Linked DNA regions of Homo sapiens: region 2 is linked to region 1. The links are contacts of gene promoters, found by promoter capture Hi-C in blood cells and fetal thymus (Javierre and others, 2016). All regions are on one chromosome and are shown on one strand. Each heading gives the region's core, a stretch centred on a gene start or on the middle of the fragment in contact. The rest is flanking DNA. Distances are from core to core; before and after follow the strand shown. Region 1 holds the start of SDAD1 (SDA1 domain containing 1). Region 2 overlaps SEPTIN11 (septin 11).

The links. Contacts are between HindIII fragments. The CHiCAGO score rates a contact against its expected background, and 5 or more counts as called.
Region 2: a fragment that was not itself captured here is called in contact with the fragment with the promoter of SDAD1 in region 1 in 2 of 17 cell types (total CD8 T cells and activated CD4 T cells); the score reaches 5.8 in total CD8 T cells.

Annotation. Positions count from the first base shown.
Region 1 is chr4:75,988,112-75,996,055 of GRCh38, forward strand. It overlaps SDAD1 (SDA1 domain containing 1), which reads right to left and starts at 2,834. Exons shown (of 22, transcript NM_018115.4): 1 at 2,641-2,834. The coding sequence starts at 2,730. The region is part of intron 1 of SDAD1-AS1 (SDAD1 antisense RNA 1); the gene reads left to right. The HindIII fragment of the contact is 958 bases long and covers 2,705-3,662 here.
Region 2 is chr4:76,950,496-76,958,439 of GRCh38, forward strand. All of the region lies in intron 1 of SEPTIN11 (septin 11), which reads left to right. Among named protein-coding and RNA genes, the nearest start is that of SEPTIN11, 4.7 kb to the left of the region's middle. The HindIII fragment of the contact is 1,752 bases long and covers 2,163-3,914 here.

The DNA of each region.
Region 1 (7,944 bases), core at 1,584-4,083:
GCTGTGGATAATTCCAATAGCTTCTTATGTGGTGTCTCTGCTTCTATCTTTGCCCTCCTACATACAGTCTATCCTCAAGTAACGGTGATCTTGTTCTCATATAGGGTGGTTCATGTATTCTTCTGCTCAAAACCCTGTAAAGGCTTCCATCTCATTGGGAGGTAGAATCCCAAATTCACCCCCTTTCCTCATTCCCTATTTGGAGCCACACTGGCCTTTATGTTCCTGAAATCTACCAGGCATACCTACCCCAAGGTCTTTATACCTTCTGTTCCTTCTGCCTAGATCATTCTTCCTAAACATATGCACAGCTCTCCCTCATGTCCTTCAGGTTTTCACTCAAAGATTACTATCTCAAGAAGACCTTCCCTAACTATCCAATTTAAAACTGCAATACCCATCTCACCCCCAACATACATAAGTACTTTCCTATTGTCTTTTTTTCACAGCACTTTTCATTATTTAACATACTATATTATTTGTTACTGTATATCACCCCCTACTAGAATGTCATTTAATGAGCATAGAATTTTTATCGGTACAGCTCAATATTATGTAGTCCCAGGGCCCAGCATTGTGCCTTACATATAGCAGGTAATCAACAGTATTTGTCAAATGAACGAACTTCAGGAAATGGCACTATCATCTACCTAGACATATAAATAAAAAACCTGGGTGATCCTTCATTCCTTCTTTTTTCCTTATCCCCCACATCCACTCCACCAGAAATCCCAAGGCTCTACTAGCTCTACCTCCACGTAGAACAGCACGAATCTTTGCCCATAATTCCAATGACACCACAATCCCTTGCTTGGTTATTCTGAGATCCATTATATTAGTTACCCTGCTTCCAGTGTTGCTCCTCTACAAGCCATTCCACATGTAACTTCCAGAGTAAATTCTTAAAAAAAATATGTCAGATCATGTCACTCTCCTGCTTAAAACTCTTCAATCACTCCCCGAGGCACTCAGAGTGAAATCTAAACTCGTTAACAGGGCCTAAGAGGCTCTGAATAAGCTGACCCCTGCCTGCATTTCCTACATCATCTTCCACTGCCCTCTTCTATGCTGACTACACTTTAGCTACACTGGCTTCTTCTCTGCTTTTTTTCCACCAGTAGCTTCTGCACTTTCTATTCCTTGTACCTAAAATGATGTTTACCTGCCTGGCTCAATATCATCATTGCAGAGCCACCTTCCCTGTTTACGGGGTCTAAATCAGAAGCCTCCAATTCTAACCTATTCCCATCCAGTTTTATTTTCTTCATAATCTCTACCATAATAAGTCTACACTCACTTGAATGTAAGTCCAAGAGAAGAATGCTTTCTTATCTGTCTTATTCATTACTGTACCCCAACGCCTACCTAGAATAACAACACACAGTAGTTATATGTGATTTTGCATATATACTTAAGTGAATTAAAGAAGTAGTTATTACCCCCTTCTTACATATTAAAATACCCACATAGGCTCAGCGATTAACCTGCTTCGGTTACACAACTGGTTAACAACAGTCAGCAGCAGGAGTTATCTAACGGAATTATATAGACTCTCAACTTACCACTTTCTTTGCGAATGGCTATACAATGCTTTAAGCATCTCAAAGCCTTGCCTATGTTACTTAACTTCTTGTACTTGTTTCCTACTCTTTATTTCCACTACCTTGATCCTTGGAGAGGCTTTCTCTACTGGTGACCTAAGCCACTGAGATTGCCATGTGTTAAAAAGCACTCATAAAATACATATATGTGAAAATTTAGGGGAGGAGGGAAGTGAGAAGGGCAATGAAAAAATAAGTAATTGTGTTAGCCACTGAACAAATCACAATCTGGTAGAAGCACAAACATGTAATTGCAGCAAATGCCTAGCAGAGATACCTGTTTAATGCCCGTCTGATAAATGAGTGTCTGAAGGAAGCACCTGTCAGATTAATATATCAAAAACCACTTTCGTTTTGTCGGTACTTGGTTCAAACACCCCTAATGTTCACAACTTACATGAGGTCAGTACACAAAGCCCATCACAATGAGGGCCTAATTTTTCAACCTAATCTTTTCCCGAAGCAAATTCTGACATCCGAGTCATGCCAGTCTCCGGTAAGTTTGAATCCTGGCTTAACTAAATATACTAAGCTCCCGAGTCTGTCCGTTGTGCTTGAGAAACCCCCCCCCCCCCTTTCCTGGCACAGTCCAGGGTACACAGCCTGCTCTCAGAAACGGACGTCAATCGAAAGCATTCTAACATACGATTCATCAAAGGTTACCGACTAATTCAAGTTTGGGATTTCTGAAAAGAGGCTGAGAAATCCGCGTGGAAGTTGGTGGTTGGGTGCGGCCCATTTCTCTCTCCACTTCCGTGCGGACGAAGAAAAATATCTTAAAACAAAATGAGGTTTTAAAGGTGTTTCAGCGGCAGCAGGGCAGGTAGAAAATCCAAAGGGGCAACAGATTTTCAAGAGGTGGGGAACGAACCCTAAGGCATGTCCCGTCCCCAACCCCTTCTCTCCTCTGGAGGGACCCCTGAACCTAACAGAAGAATAGGCGGCGAGCCTGGATCCCAGCCCCACTCCATGCTTTCCCGCACCGGCGTCTCAACCATCCACTATCCGGCCTCTAGCGTCTGCCGCGCCGCACTCCCACCTCCTCGATGTAGGCCGGCGGGTCTCGCTTGATTAGATTCTGTAACTGCGGCAGGTTGCTGGGAAGCTTGTTGTTGTTTCTGTTGGACATTTTGGCTGCAGACAGACTTCGCGGCGAGCAGTTTTAAAAAAACTCAGACGGCCGGCACCCCGCAATCCCTGCCAGCTGCAGCTTGGACTCGTGTTTCCGGGTATGACCGGAAATAGCGCATGGGACTCTAGGCAGGCGACACCTTAGCGGTTCCTAAAGCGAGCTATGCTACGGAAGCCTCAGAGTGTCAAAATTACTCTCGTTGCCAAAATACTCTGTGGTGTATTGGAGAGCCAGCCACCGCCGACCCGCCCCTCGCCCTTGGGCATATGCTACTACTTAATATTGCCTTGCGTTTCTGAAAGGATCTGAAATGTAAATTTTTTCACGTGTGTTAGCATGTATCGTCATTCCGACACCCATATGAAGCACATAAATGAGGATTAATCGTTTATTTTTAATCCCGCAGTCTAAAATTAGAAACTGACGCCTGTAATCCCAGCACTTTGGGAGGCCAAGGCGGGCCTGAGGTCGGGAGTTCGAGACCGGCCTGATCCACATGGAGAAACCCCGTCTCTACTAAAATTACAAAATTAGTCGAGCGTGGTGGCGCATGCCTGTAATCCCAGCTACTAGGGAGGCTGAGGCAGGAGAATCGCTTGAACACAGGAGGCGGAGATTGCGGTAAGCCGAGATTGCACCATTTCACTCCAGCCTGGGCAACAAGAGCGAAACTCCGTATAAAAAACAAAACAAAACAAAACAAAACTGAAAAGAACCGTGGCGCTAGATAACACTATTCCCTCTTAGGAGGAAAAAAGAGCAACGAGGGTCATATAAGTTAATGTGTATGATTTTAGATATGTTTTTATTTTGGTTTTGGTTGTTTCAACTTAGCGTGACCCATACAAGGGAAAAGAGGGCTGGATAAAATGTGATCATGTTGACCATTAATAAATGCAATTAATCGTTAAAATTCAACCATCGTTATAAGCTTTGTAAGCACTCCTCAGTCAGAGTTTTTAATTCAGATCCTGGTAATTCGAAGAGGAGAATACATTTCTACAATCTCAAGGTGTAAAAAATCAATAAGGGTTGAATGAATGAGGTAGGGTGTTGTGAATTAGAGAGAGAGAAAAAAAAACCTAATTACCCACCCTGTGCCAGGCACTATTCCAAGCACTTGTATTAACTTATTTAATCCTCAGAACAACCCTCTAAAATAGGTGCTATTGTTATCTACATTTTACAGAAGAGGAAACAAGCTCAGGGAAGTTGACTGCCTCAATTCATAGCCTGTGAGGAAGATGAGATTTCAATCTAGACAGTCTTGATTGTAACTACATGAGAAAAAACATAGCCTAACAGCTGGTAGCTGGTTGCTGGTCTGGCAAAATAGCCAGACAATAGGGTTCTGCTTAACCAAAGCAATTTTATAGAACGCCAACCTCATCTGTGACGATGATAAAATGAGCCCCAAACAAAACAACTCTGTAATCACACCTGCACACAAAATAAAGAATGCTTCACAAACCATGTTATTCAGCTGCTTTTGGAGAATGACTTATTTATTAATTATCAAATCAGTTACCTGTGAAGTTAAGAAATAAATGTCAGCAATAAATCTTTTTTAAAAAGCATAGATTTAAATTAAAATTTTTTGGCTAGGTTGTTTTAGTGAGGGCAAAAAAAGTATTCTCAAAACAAAATCTGGCTAAGTGTGGTAGCTCAAGCCTGTAATCCCAGAACTTTGGGAAGCCAAGGTGGGAGAACCACTTGAGCTGGGTAGTTCAAGACTAGCCTGGGCAATATAGTGAGACCCCATCTCTACCAAAAAGTTGAAAAATCAGCCAGGCATGGTGGCACAGGCTTGTGGTCCAAGCTACTGAGGAGGCTGAAGCAAAAGGGTTGCTTGAGCCCAGGAGGTTAAGGTTGCAGTGAAGCACTGCACACCAGCCTGGGCAATACAGTGAGACCCTGTCTCAAAAAAAAAAAAAAAAGAAAAAAGACTGCGTACAGGTACTTGAAAATGTCTGGTGTATTGAAACAATAGCCATAAGTTTGGTGTGACTAAAGGCTGGGAGGGCAGGGTGCAGCAGGGAAAGAGCTGAGAAGGTTATATTGTCCTGATATGAAAGGCTTTAATTGCTATTCTAAGGAGGGCATATAGGTCAGTTCATTTTACCTCCAGCAGCATGGAAGGCAGGATTTGTTTTTGATAAATGAGAACTCTAAGACTAAGAGTGGCTAACTGAATATATATTTTTCAGATGTTAAATAATTTGGGTATCTAAGGCCAACATCTCTGCTTTCATGTGAAATTCCATCCTTTATTTTTAAAATTATAATGTATTTATTTTATAGCTTTATTAAGATATAATTGATGTACAACAAACTACCCAGTGAACAATTTGATAAGTTTTGACATATGTATGTACCCATAAAACCATCATCACAATCAAAATAATGACTATATCCATCATCCCCAAACGTTCCTTGTGCCTCATCATCCCCAGACAAACACACATCTGCTTTCTGTCACCAAAGATATGTCTGTGTTTGCTGGAATTGTATACAAATGGAATCATACAGTACCTATTATTTGAGGTCAAGGTTCTTTCACTTAGCATAATTATTTTGAAATGTATCCATGGTGTTGTATGTATCAATAGTTCACTCCTTTTATTCCTGAGTAGTATTCCATCATATAGACATATTGCAATTTGTTTATCCATTCACTAGTTGCTGGATATTTGGGTTGTTTCCAGTTTTGGCTGTGAACATTCATGTTCAAGTCTCTTTTTAAGAGATAGGGTGTTGCTCTGTCACCAAGGGTGGAGTGCAGTGGCATGATCATAGCTCACTGCAGCCTTGAACTCCTAAACTCAGCCTCCCTAGTAGCTGGGACTACAGGTGGTGTGCCACCATGCCCAGCTAATTTAAAAAAATATATTTTTGGCTGGGCTCAGTGGCTCACGCCTGTAATCCCAGCACTTTGGGAGGCCGAGGCGGCGGGTCACGAGGTCAGGAGATCGAGATCATCCTGGCCAACATGGTGAAACTCCGTCTCTGCTAAAAAATACAAAAAATTAGCCGGGCGTGGTGGCGCGCACCTGTAGTCCCAGCTACTCAGGAGGCTGAGGCAGGGGAGTCGGTTGAACCCAGGAGGTGGAGGTTGCAGTGAGCCAAGATCGCACCACTGCACTCCAACCTTGGTGACAGAGCAAGACTCCGTCTCAAAAAAAAAAAAAAAAAAAAAAAAAAATATATATATATATATAAAAGACAGGGTCTCACTATGTTGTCCAGGCTGGTCTTGAATTCCTGGCCTCAAGTGATCCTCCCGCCTTGGCCTCTCAAAGTGTTGGGATTACAGGCTTGAGCCACCATGTCGTGCCATCAAGTCTCTATGTGGACATAAATATCTTGGTAAATGTCTAGGAATAGAATAACTGGATCAATATGATAGGTTTACGTGTAACTTTTAAGAAACTGCCGATCAATCTTTTGCTTCTACCATTCCACTGAAACTGTTTTTTATCAAGATCACCAATCACATCAATTTTCATTATTTAACTTAACCTGCAGCATTGGACACAGTTGGTCTCTCCCTTCTCCTGGAAACATACTTGGTAACTGACCTTTAACTGGTCTCTCTGCATTTTCCCTTACCCTCTTACACTGTATTTCCATGTAGTGGTCAGAGAGAGCCTTAAATGGATCAGGTTATTCTTCCAACTTCCCTTCTCACTCAGAGTAAAAGCTGAAGTTCTTCAGTGGCATAGAAGGCTGTTATGAACTGCATGATTGTGTCCCGCCAAATTCATATGTTGAAACCCTAACCCCCAATGGGATGGTATTAGGAGGTAATTAGTTCATGAAGGTGGAGTCCTCATGATGAGATTATCATCCTTGTAAGAAGAGACACAAGAAAGCTTACCTCCTTTCTCTCTGATCTCTGCCATGTGAGGATACGAGAAAACATCTGTTTGCAAATCAAGAAGAGTGCCTCATCAAATACTAAGATACTAGATCTGCTGGCACCTAGATTTTGGACTTGCCAGCCTCCAGAACTGTGAGGAATAAATGTTTGTTGTTGAAGTCATCGAGTCTGTGGTAATTTGTTATAGCAGCCCAAAACCTTATATGATCTGACCCCACACTATCTCACTGGGCTCCTCTCCCATCACTCTCCCCTTTGCTTACTCTGCGCCCCTTCAACCCTGCAATGATCCCCTAGCTGCCTTAAATGTGTCAAACTTCAGGCCTTCACACTTGCTGTTTCCTCTGATTCAAGTGCCACAAGCCTTGCTCTCTCATTGTCAAGTCTCTGCTCAAATGACAACTTATTAGAGATGTCTTCCCTGACCTCACAGCCCTCTGCTCACCCCACACTCCCTTCCCCTGCTTCATTTTCTCCAAAGCCCTTATCCGTCTCTGATATATCGTATACTTACTAGTTTAGTTGTTTATTGCCTGTCTTTATGCACTAGAATATGAGCTTAATGAAGACTGTTTTGTTCATTGTCTATCCTGTACACTTGGAGCAATGCATGCATATAATAGGTAATCAGTTAATATTTGTTGAATGAATGAATGAATGCATGGATAATCTCTAATGACTTCCAATTCTTCAACTGTGTGATTTATTAAAGCAGGAACTTAAAATATCTTGGACAAACGCAGATAAAATTTACCTGAAAATCAGTAAGTGACTAACGTGTGAATCCTTGTTATTACCTTTCTCATTAGAAACCAATGATATTGACTGTGTTCGGAAAAGCCAGTCATGTCTTCATCCTTTTCTGATTAAAATATATTGTTTTATTATTATTATTATTTGAGACAGGGTCTTGCTGTGTCACTCAGGCTGGAGTTCAGTGGCACAATCATGGCTTACTGTAACCTCAGCCTCCTGGGTTCAAACTATCCTCCTGCTTCAGTCTCCCAAGTGGCTGGGACTATAGGTGTGCACCACCATGCCTGGTTAATTTTTAAATTTTTTTGTAGAAATGAGGGACCGGGTGGGTGGGTCTGGCTATGTTGCCTGGGCTGGTCTCAAACTTCTGGGCTCAAGTGATCCTCCCGCCTCAGCCTCTCAAAATGTTGGGATTACAGGTGGGAGCTGCGATGTTTGGCCTATTGTTTAAAAAAACTGTTAGATTAGCCACTAGAGGGAGCTCATGCTTTTCTTGTTAACGGGAAAATTACATGATTTGACATGCCCACAAACTAAACAGAAATCTCATAAAGAATTATAGTCCTTAAAGCTAA
Region 2 (7,944 bases), core at 1,789-4,288, 960 kb after region 1:
ATAACACACACAAAGTTTTCTGGAGGCTCCCTTGTGGTGTGGGTGGAAGGACTGAAATGTTCTGCGGCTGAAAGGCCGGGGGCGGCGGGCTGAGGAGGCTGGGACGCGAGGAAGAGGAAGGGCGGGCGGGTGCGTGAAGAATCGAGTGCCCCACGGCGGGAGGGAGGAGAGTAGGAGGGAGGAGATACCTTTGCCCCGAGTGTGTGGGCCAAGGCGCCGCGCCTACTGGGTTGCAAGACTCGGTCCGCGCCCCGGGGCCGGGCCGGAGGGGAGCGGGACTCCGAGGGTGCGGTTCAGTGGCCGCTCCGCATCCCCAAGTGAAAGGCGGAGGAAGGGGCGGCGGCGGCCTTTCCTTTTTTTTGAAAGGAGCGGAGCTGGGTGGGAAAGGCGGAGTCCTCCTGTTTTCCCTTTCCCCTTTTCATCGTCGATGTTCACAGTCCACTCGCCTTACTGGCTTTGGGGGCGCCTCGGGCGATGTCTTTCCCTGTCTATCACCTCCTCTTCCCTTTTTCTTCTTCCCTTTCCCACAGCTGTGCAGCTGCAGGTGGTGGCTCGGGAGATTTTGTAGTTACAGACGAAAGACTTACTGAGATACTGGAAGCTCGGAAATCCCAGAAATGCAAGGCTGTGCTCTCAGGCTCCCGGCTCTTCCCCCTCTCCCCGCCTAACTCCTCCCCAGATACGCGCGCCTTTTGCACCCTACCCCCTCGGGAGAAGTTCATGGGTCCCTTTGCGGATTCTAATTCGATTTGGTGGTTCGGCTGCCCGCGGTGCTTTCAAAGACGTTTTCTGCAGTCAGAAAACACAGCGGTCATATCGAATCATGACTGTCTTTTAGGCCTTTTCAACTCTACGATTTAATGACATGGCTCTTTTAAGAATTCTGGTCTTCTTTTGCACATAAATTGTGCTCTTGATAATTAGTGGTCACATGTAGGTTATTGTTACTGAGGGAATTTGCATAGTCTCTGGGCTAGTCGTTTTATTTTTGGTGAGAAAATTGAGGTCTATAGAGGTGAAATTTATCTGGTTAAATTACTCCTCCCCCTGCCCCCCATTATACTTATTAGCAGGCATAGATTCAGAGAACTAAAATAACAATATCTGCTTTAGATAAATTGGCAAACGTTTAGGATTGCAAATATTCAGTGGGGGTGTTTGGCTTTTTCAGTAACACGTATTATTGCTGGTGCATTCTTGAGGGATGGAGGAGGTGGAAGAAATAATTAGCTGCACATTTTCTATAAATTAGTTCATATATGTCAGTTAAATAGGAACAGTATGTGGATTTAAGGTTTAGTTGTGTGGCCGTAATCACATCCAACACCAAGTCGGCCAACCATATGTGAGCTTAATCCCACAGAATTCTTATGTTAGACCTCCCTCTTCAGATAATAGAGGAGATTTTTTTTAAGTATACGTGCACAGAGGAAGTGACTTCTTTCTGCGCACTCTGTTGTCACTGGAATTAAAATTAAATTACAATCTAAAGACAGAAGACTTTTCTTTTGGAAACCTAATGTACGAGTGATTAGGAATTGACTATAAAGTTAGAAAGTCTACAGAAAATATGTGATCACATTTCACAGATAATTGTTGAATCCTTTCACTTTGTTCATTGGGCTATTGTCTTAAGTGTGGTCTCTGCAGTTATGGCTTTAAAACAAAGTCAATGAATGGGGAAGACTCTTGAGACACAGCTCCATGGAATCTACACTGCACCTTTAAAGTTAAGAGTTCTCTGGCCCTCCCATTTCTTATCTAGTCTGTGATTTCACCAAAAGAAAGGAAGGGTGCGCTGAGGGAAAAGAACCACTCCGAAGTTGATTTATGTGTGAATGGAATTTCCCTAGGTATTTAATTAGATTTTTTAAAAAGTTATTTAGGACATATATCTCCTTTTGCGATAACTACCTCTCCCCGCCAGACTGAAGAAAAATGCAATCTGAATAACTTACCCTAAATTTTTGATATTCTTGAATGGGAACATCTGAGTGTGATATCCCAGGTAAATATGACATTTTAGTGGGCAAAAATGCTTACATGTCAAATGCACTATTTTCTATCTTATGAAATGGTTATATTCTGTTACAAACCATTCAAACCTCAAGGCTAAATTCAGGTAAGTTTCTTAAGTGGATTTGTTGTTGACTGCAAAACAAAGCTTCAATTTAGTGTGATACTGTTTATTTCAGTTTTAATTTTGATCCCTAGCTTCTCCATTTCCCCACTGATGGTTTTTGGGCTTAGCCCTAAGAAGACCCTGAAGCACATCTGCTGTTTGCCTAGTATAACTGATGATTAGCAAGAACATTTTACTCCCAAGGGATGTGTCTGCATTTTGGATGAATTAGCATTTTTGCGTCCAAATCCCGGGGCAGCTATTATCTTTATTTTAAACAGAACATGGCAATTTACTCTACTTGGGAATCAGGCTTTATGTAGCTGATGGCCTCTCCTAAGCTGTGGTGTTCATCAGTTTAAAAACTCTAGGAGTTGAAAGGAACGTTAGAGGTCATTTGGGTTAGCCTGCTCCCCAGTGCAGAAATATTTCTTACTTTATCCCTAACAAAAAATATGTGTTTAAACTTCACTGGTGGTGGAGATTTCCCTATGATATCCTTCAAGAAATGCACTTAATTGCTGTTTTATCTGTTGAGCTGAAGGAAATGGAAAACCAAGTTTCCATTTGCTCATTTAACACCATTTATTAAGCACCTGCTATGTGTCAGGAACTTGTTCTAGGTGTTGGGGATATAGCAGTGGACAAGTTTTCTTCTTACCAGGAGCTTTATTGTTTGAGAGATTTGGTGTATTAAAGTGACAGACTTCAGTGTAAATGTGTAAATCATTTAGGGAGAAAAGGAATTATATGCCTATTGCTGACTCAGCAAATATGATTCAGGTGAAGGATCATATCTGTCTGGGGATAATTATAGGCAATTCTTAAAGATGAGGGCAGGGAGTGTGGGAAGTGGAGGAGTACTGCCAATAAAATGTTACTTTCCCTTGTTATAAAATTGCCATTTTTGTGACTTGAAAATGTGGCCCCAGATGGATGGCTGTGGTCGGTGTGCCTGGAGAAACATGAATGGAGCCAAGAAAGGTCCAGGGGAGGGCCACCTAAACAATAAAGGGACTGTCATCTCAGGTCAGTTTTCAAAAATTAGAACTTTTTAGTCAGTGATATAAATTATACATACTGAGGCTCTATAAGCAGTTATTAAGGAATGCAAGAAGTTTCTGAGGTACAATAATCTCTCCTTTTAAAATCTTTCGAAAGTTATAGATTAATTTATCTTTTAAATTATCATCTTTAAAAATGATGTGTCTACATTACAGTGAAAAGGAGACCCAAGGAATTGATTAAAAGAACAAAACTGCCCATAACCCACTATCCTGATATAATAGTTCTTAGGTGTTTAGTCTATTTCACCACTTTTTTGAGCAGACATAACCCATCTTGTATAAACTGCCACCTAGAAACCAAACTGTGTGCCTGAATGAGTCCTGTGTGACCATTTGAATAATACTCTTAAAATGAAGGAAGTGGATGCTTAGTGTTTGGGCATGGGCCATCCTATGTCTGCAAAAGGAACAAATGATTGTGGGACTCTGCTGTTTCCTTGATTTGGATGGCCTACTTGATTGATTGCCAGCAGACCAAGTGTTTATATTCTACCCAATGATGATGTCACACTGATCATGATCATCGGATTTAGACTGTGGCGCAGCCCACAGAGTTTTCTGTGCCTGTGTTTCTCTTTATAGGACTCTAAATTTGGTTGGGGATAGACGCTGCTCTTGGATTTTATCATTTTATTGGGATCCATCTTTCATAGTCTTAGCTAGACCTGTCTCAAATGGGGTTAGCAAAGCTGAACCATTATTTAAATGAAACCCAACACATCTAAAGCTTCTATACTTTTTTCCAAGGAGATCTACTTTACAATATAATTGATAACCTCCCCCGCCCCCTTTTTAAAAATCTGGATTGACAGAAAACTCTCAAATAACAATACTTCCCCTGACCCACTCATGCCTGCTGGCAGCCCATCAATGCAGCAGCTGTTGAACATAAAAACAATACTTGGGCTAAGGTAATAGAGACAGACTTCTAAAAGGAATTTGCTGGGCGATCTAAAATGAAATTCACATTGTTCCAGGCTTGACCTGAGATAGAAATCAGGAGTCTGTTCCCTGATATGACAAAGCCAAGGCACCAGAGCCACCTCTTTTTAGGATCGACGCCAATGAGTGTGAGCACATCGCTCAAGCCAAATGGCACAGGAAGTCCAGTTCTGTGGACACATTCTGCCCACCTGCTGAACTGTGACTGGGTAGGATGGAGTGTGAAACATTGAGAGAGGGGTAGGCTGAGGTGGTGAGGTGGGAAAGAGACCATATTCTAAAAGGACCATTTTTCTGACAAGTGGGAGCTTTGTTTGTTCTTGTCTGTGTGTGATTTCTTTTTTATTTATTTATTTATTTTTTTTTGCATTTTTATTGTACAAAAAGGAAATGAAAATATATATAGCATAACATTAAAATTTACCTACTTGTTTTTGATAATAACATTCCTTTGGGAAGAATTGATTTTTTTTCTCTTATAGAAGTTGAGGCACAATAATGTGGATAGGTTAGAGATTGAAAAACAAAATAATCCTCAACACCCTAACACATCAGTACTCATTCTTGCCTTTCCAACCCACCTGTTTTATCAGACATTTCTTGTGTACCTTCTATATGCAGGTGCTGAAATTATGTTGGTGAGTACTTGACTGCAGTCTTTGCTGCTCTCATGAAATCTCTCTATAGGCTGAGTAAGCAATAGGATTTAGCAAGGAAAGGGAGATGGGGAGGTGGTTGTGGAAGTGTTCCAAGCCCAGGAAACAGCATGTGCCAAGCTCTGGAAGTGAGGGAGAGACTCTTAAGAAATCCAATGTAGCAGGAACGTCAGCCTTAGGGTTGGGTAGGGAGAGTGGACAGACAAGAGGCTGAGGAGGTGGGAAGAGACTCAGTTGTGCAGTGCATTCTTTATAGGCATGTATTTACTGTGTAGCTCTTTAAATGCTTTATATTCCATCCACCCTTTGCCCATAACTTAAGATATCTCAGATCCTTGAAATTGGTTGAAGGAAGACAAAGAAAATCTGCAGACTACTAATTCTTCAGGATTCAATAGGAGAGTTGAGAAACGATCAGGGGAGTTGATTCCTTTCATGCCCAAATTGAACCCTTAAAGAATAGAGGAAATGAAGACTGACAGAGGACACAGAGAAGGAGAGTCCAGTGACAACATATGACAACGACAATGCTAGATCTTCCTCTGCCCAGTTTTATGCATTGAGCCTTTCCTCAGGATTCAGAACTAGAAGTTATTATTTTCTTAGACCTAAGCAACTGAGTCCTGAAGAGTGTGGTGGGGCTGGGGGGGAAGATGGTAGGACTCTTTCCACCTTGGACTTCAAGTGGCAATCAGTGTTCTCCAAAAAGGAAATTAAAAACTCATTGGATTTTATGAAAACAGGAGAAGAGTCTGTTAAAAGCCAGGGTTTACTTAAGACTTCATGCTGTTTTAGTTATCTCATCTCTTTGAGTACTGTCTTCATACCAGTATAAATTTTGTGAATCTCATTAAGGTACTCATTAAACTTACTCTGACCTGCTGTTGGAGGGCAAAAGGCTTGACCAAAAACTTCTGTGCACGGGAAGCTTGTTCAGCATCTTGATTTTCAAATTTATTCAATTCAAATTACTGTCAAGACAATTATCTCACCTTATACTCACAAAATACCTGAGAAGTAATATAGAGAAGGAAAATGAGACAGGAAGAAGTTGTCAGTTAATCTGCTACAGCAAATTTGTGGGAGAGCTAGGCTTTGGAACCAAAGGCTTTTAGACCAACATGCATACAGACCTCCCATCTGATTCAGTCAGTTAAGCTAAATTATGTTGCGGTAACAAATTGGCCCCATGTTTTGGTGGCTTACATAGCAAGGGTTTATTTCTCATGCAGCTGTTCCACCCTCGGAGGTCTGCTGCATACTGCATTGCCTCCAGGACCCAGGCTGAGGGAGTATCCTCTATCTGGGCATTGCCAGCCTGGTGGCAGAGGACAAAGAGACATGCTGAACCCTGGCTTCTCAAGAGCTGGCTTCTCAAGCTCTTAGATGGGTCACTTCCATGCAGATTGTATTGGCCAAAGTAAATGGTCATTCCTAAATTCAAAAGAATGAGGATAGAGAATCCTCCTGTAAAGAGTGGCTCTGAAAGACCCTTGGGCTGGGGAAGTAAATCCCCCTCTAGGGAGGGCAGTGAATATTTTGAATAACAGTTGGCTAGATTCCTAGTCAAGGAATCTACTATGAAGCCAAGTCTTTATTTTTAAAATTGTATCCCTGTCTGTAAGGATTTTTCTCCCTCTATTTGGCCTGCTCTGATTCTAGCTGGGCATAGTAGAATGATGTGTGTGTGTGTGTGTGTGTGTGTGTGTGTGAGAGAGAGAGAGACAGAGACAGAGACAGAGAGAGATAAGAGTTAGGCAGCCACAATGAATTGAAGTCAGAGTGAATTCTCCTACTCACTGGTGATGAGCTTCCAGGGACATCACCATCAAGTAAGTCATGGGTGGTAACCTTCTGAAAGGCCTTCTGTGCTGCTCTCTGATGACCTCAGCTGTGGAAGTGTACTCTCTGGGAAATGGTTCTGAGGCCATTAGGACTTCCAGCTGCTTGACAGAATGATTTCCCTTGGGACCTCGGCCCTTTGGACCTTTCCCAGCCATATGTCCCTAAATGCAGATGAATCAGATGGCACCCTTCTTTCCCTTGCTCTGTTTTTCTCTCTACTGAGAGGCCATAGTGTATAGCGTTTGGGTGAAAAATGTGGGCTCTGGAGCCAGGTTGCTCCGGTTCTAGAGTATCGGTTTTACCATTTAACAAGCTTTGTGTCCTTAGGCAAGTTACTTCCCTCATCTGTAAAACACTAACAGTACTTCCCTCAAAGAGTTACAGATTAAGCCAGTTAGTACACACACAGTGCTTACACTGCTGCCTGGAACATTCATCCTCAATAAAAGTTGGTTATCTGAGGAAAATGGTGCTGAAATAGTAATGGCTTTATACTGAAGACTGGGCTCAAACCAGAACTGCCACTCCACTCCACCCCACCCCAGTGGGAACTGAGCAATTGCCCCTTCTCTTGCACACCTGAACCACACAGGCTTCCCATTTTCTAATCATAGCACACCTTAGAGGCACGGATCAAGCATACCCTCCATGAAGCCTCCACCCATGAATCACCAAAATTTTGGCGATTTTTATTTATTTGAATTGCTGGCAACACTTATGTGTCATCCACATAGTGCTCTGGAGTCCCCACCCCACCTTTCCTTAAGTTACCTTTTTTAAAAAAAGTGACTGTCAAATATAATTGTGAACATAAAAACACAAAACAAAAAAACCTTATTACCTACCATAAGCAATATGTTCCACTAGCCCTTGACCACATTCTTGCATTCTTAGTCTAGATAGCCAGACTTAAGGGAAAGGACTATATGTCCTATACCCCCCACCAATAAACATTTGACTCAATAAGTGAAAATTCACCCTTCAGATAAATTGGATAAGACGTATTGTCTAAGACGTGTGCCTACCTGGCTGTTGCTGTGTCAACCCCCGGTAGGTGTAGACCTCGCAAGTCCACTTTCTGCCCCAGGCTTCTCTGCCATCGCCACCTGGGTTCTGCTTAGCTATTCTGACCTTTGTGCACTTCTGGACATCCAAAGGAGTTGCCATCCCAGGGGGCAACCCCCTTGAGATGGTGGATCTACATGGCTCCTCAATTGACCTGGCTCCTTAGAAGTTCCCCTCTGGGCCCCAGCCTCAGCCCTCAGGGGTGATTACTCTACAGTCCCCTTAGGGTGGCCTTCCCTCTTCCCCT